Regions from separate parts of the Homo sapiens genome. Here region 1 is linked to region 2. Evidence: promoter capture Hi-C in human tissues and cell types (Jung and others, 2019). All regions are on one chromosome and are shown on one strand. The core of a region is centred on a gene start or on the middle of the fragment in contact, and the rest is flanking DNA. Distances in the headings are between cores, read along the strand shown. Region 1 holds the start of RNF187 (ring finger protein 187). Region 2 holds the start of JMJD4 (jumonji domain containing 4).

Region 1 (6,279 bases), core at 2,750-5,249, 750 kb after region 2:
GCAGTGATGCTATGTCAGCTCACTGTAGCCTCCGTCTCCTGGGTTCAAGCGATTCTCCTGCCTCAGCCTCCCGAGTAGCTGGGACTACAGGCATGCAGCACCATGCCCAGCTAATTTTTGTATTTTCAGTAGAGATGGGGTTTCACCGTGTTGGCCAGGATGGTCTCCATCTCCTGGCCTTGTGATCTGCCAGCCTCGGCCTCCCAAAGTGCTGGGATTACAGGCGTGAGCCACCGCGACCAGCCTTTTGCAATTTTTCATCAAAATTTGAGAGGACCAAGGGTTCCCCTTGGCACCTACACCAGCCACCCTGTCTTGGGAAGTGGGGATGCTGGCACCACACAATGTGGATTCTGCTGGTGGTAAGGGAGAGAGGCTTTCAGGCAACAATCTTTGCCAGTGTATACTTCCAAAAGTCTCTAATGCACACATGTGCAAGTTCATGGCTGCTACCATTTGCTAAGCCATGCCCCTAGTATTGGACCTTCAAGGTTTTTTTTTTTTTCTCCAAAATGAATAGTGATATGACATACATTTCTCTTTCTTTCTTCTCTTTCTTCCTCTCCCTTCCTCCCTCCCTCCCTTCCTTTCTCTCTTTCTTTCCTTCCTTCTTTTTCTCCTTCCTTCCTTCCTTTTCTTTCTTTCCTTCCTTTCTTCTTTTTCTTTTCCCTTTCTTCCTTCCTTCCTCTCTCCCTCCACTCCTTCCTTCTCTCCCCCACCCCCCGCCCCCACCTCTCTCTCTCTCTCTCTCTCTCTTTCTTTTTTTTAAGACAAGGTCTTAAAAAATTCTCTCATTTCCCAGGCTGGAGTGCAGTGGCATGATCACGGCTCACTACAGGCTCAATCTCCTGTGCTCGGGTGATCCTCCCACCTCAGCCTCCCAAGTAGTTGGGTCCACAGGTGCGTGCCACCACGCCCAGCTAAATTTTAAAAATTTTCTGTACAGACAGGTTCTTGCCATGTTCCCCAGGCTGGTGTTGAACTACTGGGCTCAAGCTATCCACTCACCTCAGCCTCCCAAAGTGCTGGGATTAACAGGCATGAGCCACCTCTCCCAGCCACATTTCTAAACAAAACAAAACAGCCCAATTTTTTACAACCCAATTTTTATTATTTTCATTTCCTGTTATTTTTATAGTTTGTTTTCTAAGAAAAGGAATTCCAATCAGAAAATCCTTAATCGATACTGCTACGTGGATTACAAGAAGCAGTATTCACAGAATCAAGTGTTTTTTTTGTTTGTTTGTTTTCTGTTTTTTGTTTTTTTGAAATGGAGTTTCACTCTGTTGCCCAGGCTGGAGTGCAGTGGTGTGATCTCGGCTCACTGCAACCTCCACCGCCCAGGTTCAAGCGATTCTCCTGCCTCAGCCACCCAAATAGCTGGGATTACAGGCACGTGCCACCATGCCTGGCTAATTTTTGTATTTTTTTTTTTTTTTTGAAACTGAGGGAGTCTTGCTCTGTCGCCAGGTTGGAGTGTAGTGGCATGATCTCGGCTCACTGCAACCTTCGTCTCCCGGTTCCAGCTATTCTCCTGCCTCAGCCTCTCAAGTAGCTGGGACCACAGGCGTGCACCACCATGCCCAACTAATTTTTGTATTTTTAGTAGAGACGGGGTTTCACCATGTTGGCCAGGATGGTCTCGATCTCTTGATCTTGTGATCCACCTGCCTCAGCCTCCCAAAGTGCTGGGATTACAGGCGTGTGCCACCACATCCAGCCTAATTTTTGTATTTTTAGTAGAGATAGGGTTTCACTATGTTGGCCAGGCTGGTCTTGAACTCCTGACCTCAGATGATTCACCCGCCTCGGCCTCCCAAAGTGCTGTGTTTACAGGCCTGAGCCACGGCTCCCGGCCAAGTTTCCTTTTTTTTGTTTGGTCTGCTTACTTAATAGTGGAAAGAAAGAGAGTCTCGTTTTATTTTCCTCTTTCTTAACTGGGCAGAGTGTACATTTTTTTCTCATGTGTGTTCAATCATTTGTGTGCTTTTTTTTTTGTGATTTGAAAAATCCCATGACAAGGTGTATTTTCCATCATGCTTTTCCTTACCTAATTTTATAAACTCTTTGTATATTTGTGGTTACAATGTTCCTAATTTGGCTATTTGCCTTTAATTATAATTTTTGATATTTTCTCATTCACAAGATTAGTTCATTATGAAGTTTGCTCATTTTTTATATTTTTTACTTTTCTCTCCAGCAAGTTCCTAGTTGACTCAACAATATCAGCAAGGCTCGGCTGGAAGCCTCTAATCTTTACTACACAGAAATAACCTCGGTTTACTATTCATGTTTCCCACGGGCATCTAGTGCATTTCCAAGTCGATTTAAAAAATCTTCACAAAGACAAAAATACCTCATTAGATCCTGCGCTTGCTTGGAATACAGATTTATAAAAATTTTTTTTTGTTTTTGTTTTTTAAGACAGAGTCTCGCTCTGTCGCCAGGCTAGAGTGCAGTGGCACGATCTTGGCTCACCGCAACCTCCGACTCCCTGGTTCAAGTGATTCTCCTGCCTCAGCCTCCTGAGTAGCTGGGATTACAGGCATGCGCCACCACGCCCGGCTAATTTGTGTATTTTTAGTAGAGACGGGGTTTCACCATGAGCCAGGATGGTCTCATATCTTGACCTTGTGATCCGCTCGCCTCGGCCTCGCAAAGTGCTGGGATTAGAGACGTGAGCCACGGCGCCCGGCCCAGATTAATTTTTTAAAATGCAAAACTTGCACAATCTTATTTTAACCATGCTTGCTTGTTTTCAAAATAATTAAAAAACAAAAACACAAGATTGCTCTTCCCAAAGGCTTATTTCTTTCCTTTAAATTTATTTTTTAAAGAAAAGCTAACGGCCGGGTGTAGTGGCTCACGCCTGTAATCCCAGCACTTTGGGAGGCAGAGGCGGGTGGATTACGAGGTCAGGAGTTCGAGGCCAGCCTGGCCAACATGGTGAAACCCCGTCTGTACTAAAAATACAAAAATTAGCCGGGCGTCGTGGCAGGCGCCTGCAATACCGGCTACTCGGGGGGCTGAGGCAGGAGAATCGCTTGAACCCGGGACGCGGAGGTTGCAGTGAGCCGAGATCGCGCCACTGCACTCAAGCCTGCCTGGCAACAGAGCGAGGCTGTCTCAAAAAAGAAAGAAAAGCAAAGCAAAGCTAACAAATGCTCTTCTGTCATGCATCATCACAGAATCAATGAGAGCTCCCCCCAGCCAGGAGACAGCGGACAACCAGGGTAGCTTCCCAGGGGGCCAGAGGGAGGCTGCGCGAGAAGAGGCTCAGCGGGATGGGTCCACGCAGGGAGATCCCACGCAGGGTGGGCGTATACGAGTGTCCACGTCCGGAGGGCCGTTCAAGGGCGGGTCCCTGAAGGAAGGGTGCACGCAGGGCACGTCCACGCGGGCAGGCCCGTGCACGCAGGGCGTGCCCATGCAGGGCGGGTCCGTGCAGGATGAGAGCAGCGGAGGAGGCCCACGCAGGCCATTTCCCGCCCCGTCCCCAGCCCACGCGGGCGAGCTACCGCGGGGGTACGCGCAGCTCAGATCCTAGCAGCTTACAAAAACAACCTTTTAAAAATGGAACCTTCAAGTAAAAATAAAACTTTGTTTCCCTCTTTCGCAGGAGTTACTGAAGTAGGAAGGGACAGCCCAGTAAGATTTCAGGATACGACTTGGGCCGGTCCGCAGGCAGTAGAGTGAAGCGCGCAGCTGCCAGGACTTGCGCGGTGACGTGCGCCGCTGCCAGGACCTTGCAGGTGGAGAGCATAGTTGCCAAAATCAAGGCGGAGGAGCGCACCGCCGCTAGGATCCAGGCGGAGAAGCCCACCGCGGCCAGGACCTAAGGATGCAGTACACTGCTGCCAGGATCTTGTCTGTGGAGCGCAGCGCGGCCAGGACCTCCGGCTGCAGCACACCGCTGCCAGGATCTTATCGGCAGAGCGCTCCGCGGTCCGGACCCCGCCCCGTGCGCGTCCCCGACCCCGCCCCGTGCGCGTCCCCGGCGTTGGCGTCTTCGTCCTGTTGCTGGTCTCCGTCCGGTCGCCGGCCGTCTAGGTCTCCGGCCCTCCCCAGCCGCTCCTGCGCCCTTGCCGGCCCCGCCGCCCGCAGCCCTGGCGCTCCCTGCGGGCCCCGCCGAGGCCGCCTGCGCCCTGTGCCAGCGCGCGCCCCGGGAACCGGTGCGCGCCGACTGCGGCCACCGCTTCTGTCGGGCGTGCGTGGTGCGCTTCTGGGCCGAGGAGGACGGGCCCTTCCCGTGCCCCGAGTGCGCCGACGACTGCTGGCAGCGCGCCGTGGAGCCCGGCAGGCCCCCGCTCAGCCGCCGCCTTCTGGCGCTCGAGGAGGCGGCCGCGGCGCCCGCGCGCGACGGCCCGGCCAGCGAGGCCGCGCTGCAGCTGCTGTGCCGCGCCGACGCCGGCCCGCTCTGCGCCGCCTGCCGTATGGCTGCGGGCCCCGAGCCGCCCGAGTGGGAACCGCGCTGGAGGAAGGCGCTGCGCGGCAAGGTGCGCGCCGCGGGGTCCCGTGCCCCACCCCGGACGGTGCCCTGCGCCTCTCCGCCCCCGCCCCGGTCCCCCTGAGCCCTGGGCCCTTCCCGTCTCCACTGTTCCTGTCCCCGGATTGTCCCCGTCCCCGGATTGTCCCCCTCCCCTCACCGCCACGGGTCCCCTCTCCAGCGTGTGCTGGGCCCCTCCCTCCTGCGGCTTGCCTCCCCATATTTCCTGCGTCTCTTCGGAGTCTGGTCCCCTTCCCCGTCTTGGTGTCCCCTGCTGGGCGGTGCCTTATCTCCCCACCCCCTACCTTCTACGAAGTCCTTCCCCCACCAGCGCCCATCTTTGTGGTCCCATCACTAGCTGTGCCCTGTCTCGCCCTCATAGACCCCCTCTAGTTCCTACAGATTGACTCCTCCACTCACTCTTCCCTTGGGGGAGACATCACGCCTCTTGCCCCTCTGTATTCCACTGTGTCCACAGGCCTGGCCCACCTTCTCGTCTGCTCCCCGGGCCACCCAGCCCTCGCCTGCACCCCCTGTCCCCTCTCCCATCTTTCAGAAACCCGCTCTGAGAGTCTGGCAGCAGCGGGTCCGGGAGTCTGGAGCCTTGCCCATGGCGGGTTGGTTGTGGGACACAGAATAGGAGACAACAGCCAGCCTGGGGTCCTGCTCTTCAATACAGGGGAGGGGAAGCCAGCCAGACTGTGTCCCTGGGTGCTCCTCCTGCATTGGGGGTCCTGCCACCGGGCAGAGCGACCCCCATCCGGCTCAGGCAGGGCAGGGTGTAGGGCAGGCTGTGCAGACCTTTGGTACAGGCCGAACTCACACTGAACAGGGCCACTTACAGACACAGAACTCCTAAACCCACCTAGACAGTCCCCTTAGCCCCAGCACCCAGATCCTTCTGAATAGGTGTGAAGCCCAAGAAACCTTTTGACTGCCTGTGCGTTCCTGCCCTAGACAACCGGGCTTCGAGGTTATCTCTGGGATGGTCAGACTGTGTGCAGTCAGCTGGGGTGATGTCCCTCAGTACTGGGCTGGGTTGGGGGACCCAGAGCTTCTGCCCACCCCTGGTGACCTTCTTTTCTTTACAGGAGAACAAGGGGTCTGTGGAAATCATGAGAAAGGACTTGAATGACGCCCGGGACCTGCATGGCCAGGCAGAGTCAGCAGCTGCAGTGTGGAAGGCAAGTGGGGGGACCTGGGGCAGCCTGGAATGAGGGGACTGTGGGCTCAGGGCTCTAGACAAAGGGACCACCAGGCCAAGTGGGCCAGGCCTCTGAACTGCTCAGCTGGTTGGTTGGAGGAGGGGCCTCTGGACTTAAGTGAGCTTCAGGGTATTTTTTTTAGGATGTGTTTGTATTTCTCAAATAGAATCTAGCCAAAGCCAGTGGAAGCCTCTTTTTCTCCTCACATTTTACCTGTAGGTGATGGCAGCATCAGACTTCTTTTTTTTTTCCCAAGAGACAGAGTCTCACTTCATTACCCAGGCTGAAGTGCAATGGCATGATTGTAGCTCACTGCAGCTCGAACTGGCCTCAGGCGATCCTCCCACCTCAGCCTCTGGGACTATAGGCACGTGCTACCACACCTGGTTAATTTTAAAATGCTTTTCTAGAGGTGGGGGTCTTGCTGTGTTGCCCAGGCTGGTCTCAAACTCCTGACCTTAAGCGGTTCTCCCGCCTTGGCCTCCCAAAGTGCTATTTTTTTTTTCTTTTTTAGAACACATCTGTAATTTTCTGTGGTCCTCTTGTTCTGATCTGAGAGTTGCTCATTATTTTTTAGAGGCTAGAAGT
Region 2 (6,708 bases), core at 1-2,500:
GCACCACCGACAGCACGTGAGGCACGAGGAGACTAGGGCAGCACGAGTGGGGCAACTGAGACCAATCGGCTCCAGTGGAGCTTCCAGATGGCTGCAGCCCCCAAAGAGCCCCAGACCCTCCTCTGAGCCAGACGCTGCTGGCGGGGGAGGGGGCGGGGCAGTCTGACTACAATGGTTCTGCTTATTAGAAAGTACTGATCATGCCTATAATCCCAGTGCTTTGAGATGCTGAGGTGGATGCATCACCTGAGCTCAGGAGTTCAAGACCAGCCTGGGCAACATGGTGAAACCTAGTCTCTTTAAAAAAAAAAAAAAAAAAAAAAAAAGCCGGGAGTGGAGACGCCTTCCTGTAATCCCAGGTACTAGGGAGGCTGAGGAGATCTCTCTCAAAAAAAAAGGAAAAAAAACCATATTGACCTCCCAAAGAACAACACTTGCAGCCATGCGGAAGACAATCCAGTTTCTTTTAAACTGATTAAAGTGCCTCACGGGGAAAAATAGCTCCGTTGTGCACCCAGGGGCCACCTTCATCAGAAAGGCCTCTGGGTTCACGCAGCGCTAGGGAAGGCAGCGCCTCGGTGCGTCCCAAGCCCCATTACCTGCACAAGTGCCAGTCTTTGAGGTAGAGACAGCCCCTGGGAGAGGAGTAGCCCGCCTGTATGTACTCTTTCCAGTAGGTGATGTAGTCTCTGAGAGTCATGTGCTCTTTGGGGTTCGAGTTGTATTCCTGGACCCCACAGTTTGCAACTGGTACAACCACGTCTCCTGAAATGAAAGGCACGGTCCATGCCATCTCCCTGGGCCCCGTCCTCACTCCAAACCGTCTGCAGAGGAACTCTCCAGGGGCCACGCGCCTGGCCTCCCTCACCCTCCCTGGTGCCCCTCTCTAGGCGGGGGCCTCCCGGGCCTGGGTCCCGCCGGCCTTTCCTCCCCGCCCGGGGTCTGCGGCCGCCGCCCCACCGTAGGTCCGTAGCAGGTGGTCGAAGTCGGGCCTCCCCGCGGGCGTCACCCAGCGCCGCCGGCTGCCCCAGCCCTGCGTGAAGGCGCTGGAAAACACGCAGGGCAGGTTGGGCAGCAAGAAGCCCCGCACAAAGTCGGCGTAGGAGAAGGCGCCCGGCTCCGAGACGAAGGCTACCCGGCCCGGAGCCTGGCCGACGCCGGGGACATCGACCCCCAGGCCTCGGAAGTGGCTGTCGGCGAGGGCGCGCGTCTCGCGGTCCATCCAGCTCAGCACGGGTCGAAGGACCCTCCTCCTCACTTCCGCCGGAGCGGAAACGGTGAGGACCAGCCTCGGAACCAGAAGACGCAGGGCGCCGCGTTTCTGCCCCGCCAGCGCCTGGGGCTCCGGGCCTGCACGCATGCGCGCGGCTCGCCGCGGTCTTCACTGCGCAGGCGCCGAGCGGCCGAGGCGCCGCGGTCGGCTCTGGGACTCGTCTGGCGTCCCTCAGGTGAGCGACGGTGTTGGTCTGTTGGGCGCCCGGCCCAAGCCAAGCCGTAGCGTCCGCCCTCGGCTCAGTCCGCGCGCTGTGGCTGACACAGCCCGAGCCCTCCTTCCCGCATCCCCGGGGGGTGGGGGGTATGCGGGCTGCGCTGGGAGAGGGGCGGGGACAGAGGCGGTTCTGGGGGCGGGAGTGCGGCGGTGCGGGGGCGCCCAGGGATGATGGGACCCGGAGAGAACGGTGGGACCCAGAGGGAGAGCTGGGGGGCCCTGGGATGGTGGGATCTAGCGGAGATGGTAGGGTCCTGGAGGAGATGGTGGGGACCTGGAGAGGACGGTGGCACTTGGAGGGGATGGAGACGGGATCTGGAGGGGACGGTGGGACCTGGAGGGGATGGGGACAGTGGGGACCTGGAGAGGACGGTGGGATCTGGAGGGGATGGGTACAGTGGGGACCTGGAGAGGACGGTGGGGACCTGGAGAGGACGGTGGCACTTGGAGGAGATGGGGACATTGAGGACCTGGAGGGGACAGTGGGGATTTGGAGGGGACGGTAGCACTTGGAAGGGATGGGGACAGTGGGTTCCTGGAGGGATCAGTGGCACCTGGAGGGGACATGGGATCTAGAGAGGATGGTGGGGACCTGGAGGAAAATGGTGGGAGGGCTGGAGGGGGCAGGGTAACCTAGATGGGCGAATGGGGCCCACAGGGGACCTGGAGGGCATGGCAAGGGGCCCCAGGGGATGACGGGTGTCTGGAGAAGATGGTGGGGAATGAGGGAGGGTGTGAAATGAAGGTGTGGTGGGAGTGTGGGTAGGGATTTGGGGCTGTGTACACATGAGCAGGGCTGAAGTGGGAGGACATCGGAGTAGTGACATGAGGAGTGTTTTGCCAAACTTGCAACTGGAGTTACCCCAAAAGTGGCGGCAAGGGAGTTCCCCACACTATCCTCAGGTGGGACCAGTTGGGATACCAAAGAAAGAAGTGCTAAATGCATGGTAAGCCCAGAGCAGTTTTTTTTTTTTTTTTTTTTTTTTTTTTTTTTTTTGAGACAGTATGCAGTGGCACCATCACAGCTTACTGCAGCTTCCACCTCCTGGGCTTGATGAATTCTTTAATTCTGCTTCAGCCTCCCAAGTAGCTGGGACTACAGGCATGAGCCACTATGCCCAGCTTAGTTTTGTTTTTTTGTTTTTGTTTTTTTTTTTTTTTTTTGTAGAGACAGGGTCTCTGTGTTGCCCAAGCCGGTGTTGAACGTTTGGGCTCAAGCAATCCTTCTGCCTTGGCCTCCCTAAGTGCTGGGATTACAGGTGTGAGCCACTGCGCCAGGCCCTGCCTAGAGGTTTTGTTAGGGGAACTTTCATATAGAGTGGGCTGCGGTAGTCCTCGAGACGGGCAGTAAGGGAAAAGGGATGTCCTCCCTAGGTATGTCTCTTGGAAGGGGTGTGGGTTATGGAGTTTATAGGAAGGTTTCAGGAATTTGGCTCAGGGCCAAGGCCGTTTTCTTTGTAGTAAACCTAGATACTTTCTTCCATGCCTGGAAATGTTAAAGGCCCTGGATTGGGTTGAAGCCTGGTGGGGAAAACCTGTGGTTGGGGCACAGAGGGATCAGGGTACTCTGTGATTTTCGGCCAGGACACGAAAGTGGGGCCATGGGGGACCCTATGTGATGTATGTCTTGGTGTGCTGGAGAAATCAGCTCAAAGCTACCCACATGGATGCAGAAGGAAAGATAGCAGATTTATTGCCCCCGAAGCCTGGCAGGCTGTGTGCACATAGGTGCTCTGCGAGAGAGTGCAGAGTCTGGGCAGCATTTCCCAGGCGTCTTGACAGGGAGGTGGAAGGAGGAACAGTTAGAACCGCTCATCTCTCCCAGAGAAATGAGAGGCAGCTTGTGCTGGTTTGCACACAGTGCGAGGCCTTTGAGTTAGGTTTGGAGGTCTGATGACATTCTAGGGGCCATCAGACCATGACTGTGTCTTGTAAAATCTGGACACTGGGCTATCTCATTCCAGACCAAACAGAGGCATCCTAAGCGGGAGAGGGGCACCTGCCTTCCCTTTATGAAGCAATGGAAATGTTGTTTTATTTACTCTTATAAGTGGGGATATGGGAGGTTCTAGGAGTGCTGGGGCTCTGAGCCTTGCTGGAAGACTCTTTCCAAGGGGTGTGAGGTTTACCCAGGAGAACAGGGAGGAGCAGAAGAGGGAGGACCAAGGTCTGAGGAGTTGGAGGGAGGACTAGGAGGAAAGTGAGTTTTGGGAGTCTGAGTCCAGGTAAAGGTGGGATATGAGGGCAGGGACAGGAGGCGGAGAGTTGTTTTGGGGATTGTGTGATTCAGTGCGTGCTATGGTCCCTTCCTAGTCAGCCCTATTGTGGCTTGTGTGATCACGGTATGCAATTGTTTATTGGGGTTTTTTTTACACTAGAGAATCAGAATGTCTGGAGAAGTTACAGTTGCAGAGAAAGAATCACCTCCAGTTCCGTCCAGAGATGACTGGGGTTTTTTTGCTTTGGTTTTTTTTGGTTTTTTTGTTTTTTGTTTTTTGTTTTGTTGTTTTTGCTGTTTTGAGACCGCGTCTTATTCTGTCACCCAGGCTGGAGTGCAATGGCATGATCTTGGCTCACTGCAACCTCCGCCTCCCAGGTTCAAGTGATTCTCCTGCCTCAGCCTCCTGAGTAGCGAAGATTACAGGCGCGCACCACCACGCCCAGCTAATTTTTGTATTTTTAGTAGAGACGGGGTTTCACCATGTTGGTCAGGCTGGTCTCGAACTCCTGACCTTGTGATCTGCCCGACTCGGCCTCCCAAAGTGCTGGGATTACAGGCGTGAGCCACCGCACACCCAGCCGAGATGACCGTTTTTTATTCCTGGTGTAGAGCCGGCTTTTCTACATTCCTTCACACATACATTCATTCATTCATTCATTCTCTCTCTCCACTCTTCTCTCCCCCCAGTCCTTGCCTATACGTTCACGCACATGTATGCACACACACTCACACATACACAGTCTCTTTCTCCATCGTGTATAATATACATATATAAACTTTTGCTGCTTTTAGTCTTTTGTTTTTTATTTAACAATATGCTGTAACATCTTGCCACATATTGACCTCAATATTGACAATTAATTGACCTTAATTGATCTTGCCACATATTGTTCCTTAATTGCTAGTAGTCATTTGATTTTGGTTGTGGTGCATGCAGATCATGGGAGGCCAATGGGGAAGATGTGGGGAGCAGAGTGTTTATAATTGTCTCAAGATCTTGGAATATGGTTCCGAGTTTGCCTCATGGGGAAACTGAAATTCAGGTGGGCATTGCCTGGAAGGAGTTCCTGCAGCTCCGTGGTTGAGCCTGTTTCCTAAGAAAGGAGCATTTGGGCTAGCAGGTCCACAGCTCCCTGAGATCACTGAGCCCCTAGGACTTGGTGGGAGATGGAGCTCTCGTTCTTGAGATGGAACTCTGTGGTTTAGTTCGCTGGTCCGCAGGGTGCCCCCTCGGGTCAGTGTCACCACTGTATACGCAGGAGGCCTGGAGTGTTATCAGCTCTCATGGGACTGGAACATAGGCTTGTGTCACCCAGAGCCCGCTAGATCAGCCCTGGCATCGCTTGGGAATGGCAAGAAATCCACATTCTTGGGCCCCACACAATACTCCATTAGGATGGTTTTTTGTTTTTGTTTTAAAACGGGGTCTTCCTCTGTCACTCAGGCTGGAATGCAATAGCGCTATCTTGGCTCACTGCAACCTCTGCCTTCTGGGCTGAAGTGATCCTCCACCTCAGCCTCCCAGAGTGCTGAGATTACAGGTATGAGCCACTGTGCCTGGCCAGGACGGGTTTTAAGTCAGCACTTTGGAGAAAATGCAGTACGCTTTGTGCCGAATATGTGCTCCTCTGTCACTGTGTTGCATGCAAACAGCCCCAGTGAGGGTGTCTGCACTTTGTGGCTAGAGTTGGGAACCTCTGAGGGAGTGGAAAGAGGGTCTGAGGAGCAGGGGAGGGGAGCCTGGAAAGATTGGCCGCACCCTACCGCCCCTGTGGGCACACACAGCCACCACTGTTCTCACTTAGCTTCTTGGTTGCGAGGTAGTGGAAGGTGTGCAAGATGTTTGTTCTGTGACTGCGGAAATTAACTAAAAATAAGTTGTTTACTGGGTACTGAGCCTCACTCAGGGGACCCTTGAGTGATGGAAATGCTGAAAGAGACCCATTGTACAGATCGCCCTGCGTGCTGAGCCATCCCTGTGCTGCAGACTTCCTCCCCAAGAGCGTCACTTGTGTGGGTTGGCTGCAGACACCCTTGGGCCCCTGGCCATGACCTCCCTCGAGGATTCAGCTGTGTGTTCTCAGGGTCAGCGCGGGTCCCCAGGCCCACACCTGCACTGGAGGAAGGAGGTTGCAGATTGCAACAGGCAGGGACACCGTGAGGGCTCCAGGACCTGGACTGATTGCAGAACTATGTGGTACAGGAGGGCATAGGCACAGCTCTGTTTCCATGTGGTGTGGTTGTGGTCAACTCAGCACAAATTCATTGGGTGCCCATGGTGTGTAGCGGGCCTTGCGGCCCTCCCATGATAGTGCCTTCTGTAGTGCGACAGTCATGAAAGCACCAACTCTCTGGAGTTTTGCTTGGGCCATGGTTGGTGACAGTGCCTTAGGAAGGCGAGGAAGCCCTCCGAACAGAGACCTGCGGAGTGGAGCCACCAATGAGACTCCCTGGTGTGGAAAGGCTGCTGGGAGCAGAGGGCAGGGGAAGGCCAGGGCAGGGAGGCCGCAGGTCCTGCAGAGTCCATGAGGCTGCGGTAAGGAACTTGGATCTCATTCCAAGTACACAGGGAAAGGCTTTGGGCAGAGAAGTGACATATTCTAATTCTGTTCAATGACTATCTCATTGACTGCTGGAGGGGGAATGGGTGATGGGGACAGGATGAGGTCAGGAGGTTGCCTGAGATGTTGTCCAGGTGTGGAGGGAGGGAGGACTGCCTTGGATGGTGGAACTGTGGAAAGTAACTAAAAGTAGATTGTTTCCTGGAGATTGAGTCTCATTCAGGGGGCACACATATAATGGAAAGACTGAGAGAGACCCATTGTACAGATTGCAGTGTGTGATGAGTGAGTCCCTGTGACTACAACACCTTCCCCCAAGTGTGTTGCTTGTGCTGGTTGGCCCAGACAATGCCTGTGCCAGGTCAGTGATGTGGTCTTGGGGTGGAGGGTGGGGACACAGCTGCCAGGACATGCTCATGGCATGTTTCTTGAGGGGG

What was found. The method cuts DNA at HindIII sites, captures the fragments that hold promoters and counts their contacts. A contact is called where the count stands out against the background at its distance.
Region 1: a contact is called between the fragment with the promoter of RNF187 here and the fragment with the promoter of JMJD4 in region 2, in 1 of the 25 tissues and cell types used here (neural progenitor cells).

The regions. Positions count from the first base shown.
Region 1 is chr1:228,483,383-228,489,661 of GRCh38, forward strand. RNF187 (ring finger protein 187) reads left to right here and starts at 4,000. Exons shown (of 4, transcript NM_001010858.3): 1 at 4,000-4,496; 2 at 5,578-5,670. The coding sequence starts at 4,107. RefSeq lists enhancers at 2,878-3,739, 3,059-3,438, 3,740-4,600, 4,718-5,446, 5,447-6,174 and silencers at 4,059-4,178, 4,439-4,638. The HindIII fragment of the contact is 28,484 bases long and covers 1-6,279 here.
Region 2 is chr1:227,734,052-227,740,759 of GRCh38, forward strand. JMJD4 (jumonji domain containing 4) reads right to left here and starts at 1,251. Exons shown (of 6, transcript NM_023007.3): 1 at 961-1,251; 2 at 600-765. The coding sequence starts at 1,222. It overlaps SNAP47 (synaptosome associated protein 47), which reads left to right and starts at 1,384. Exons shown (of 5, transcript NM_053052.4): 1 at 1,384-1,448. RefSeq lists silencers at 773-972, 1,433-1,722 and an enhancer at 6,643-6,708. The HindIII fragment of the contact is 38,393 bases long and covers 1-6,708 here.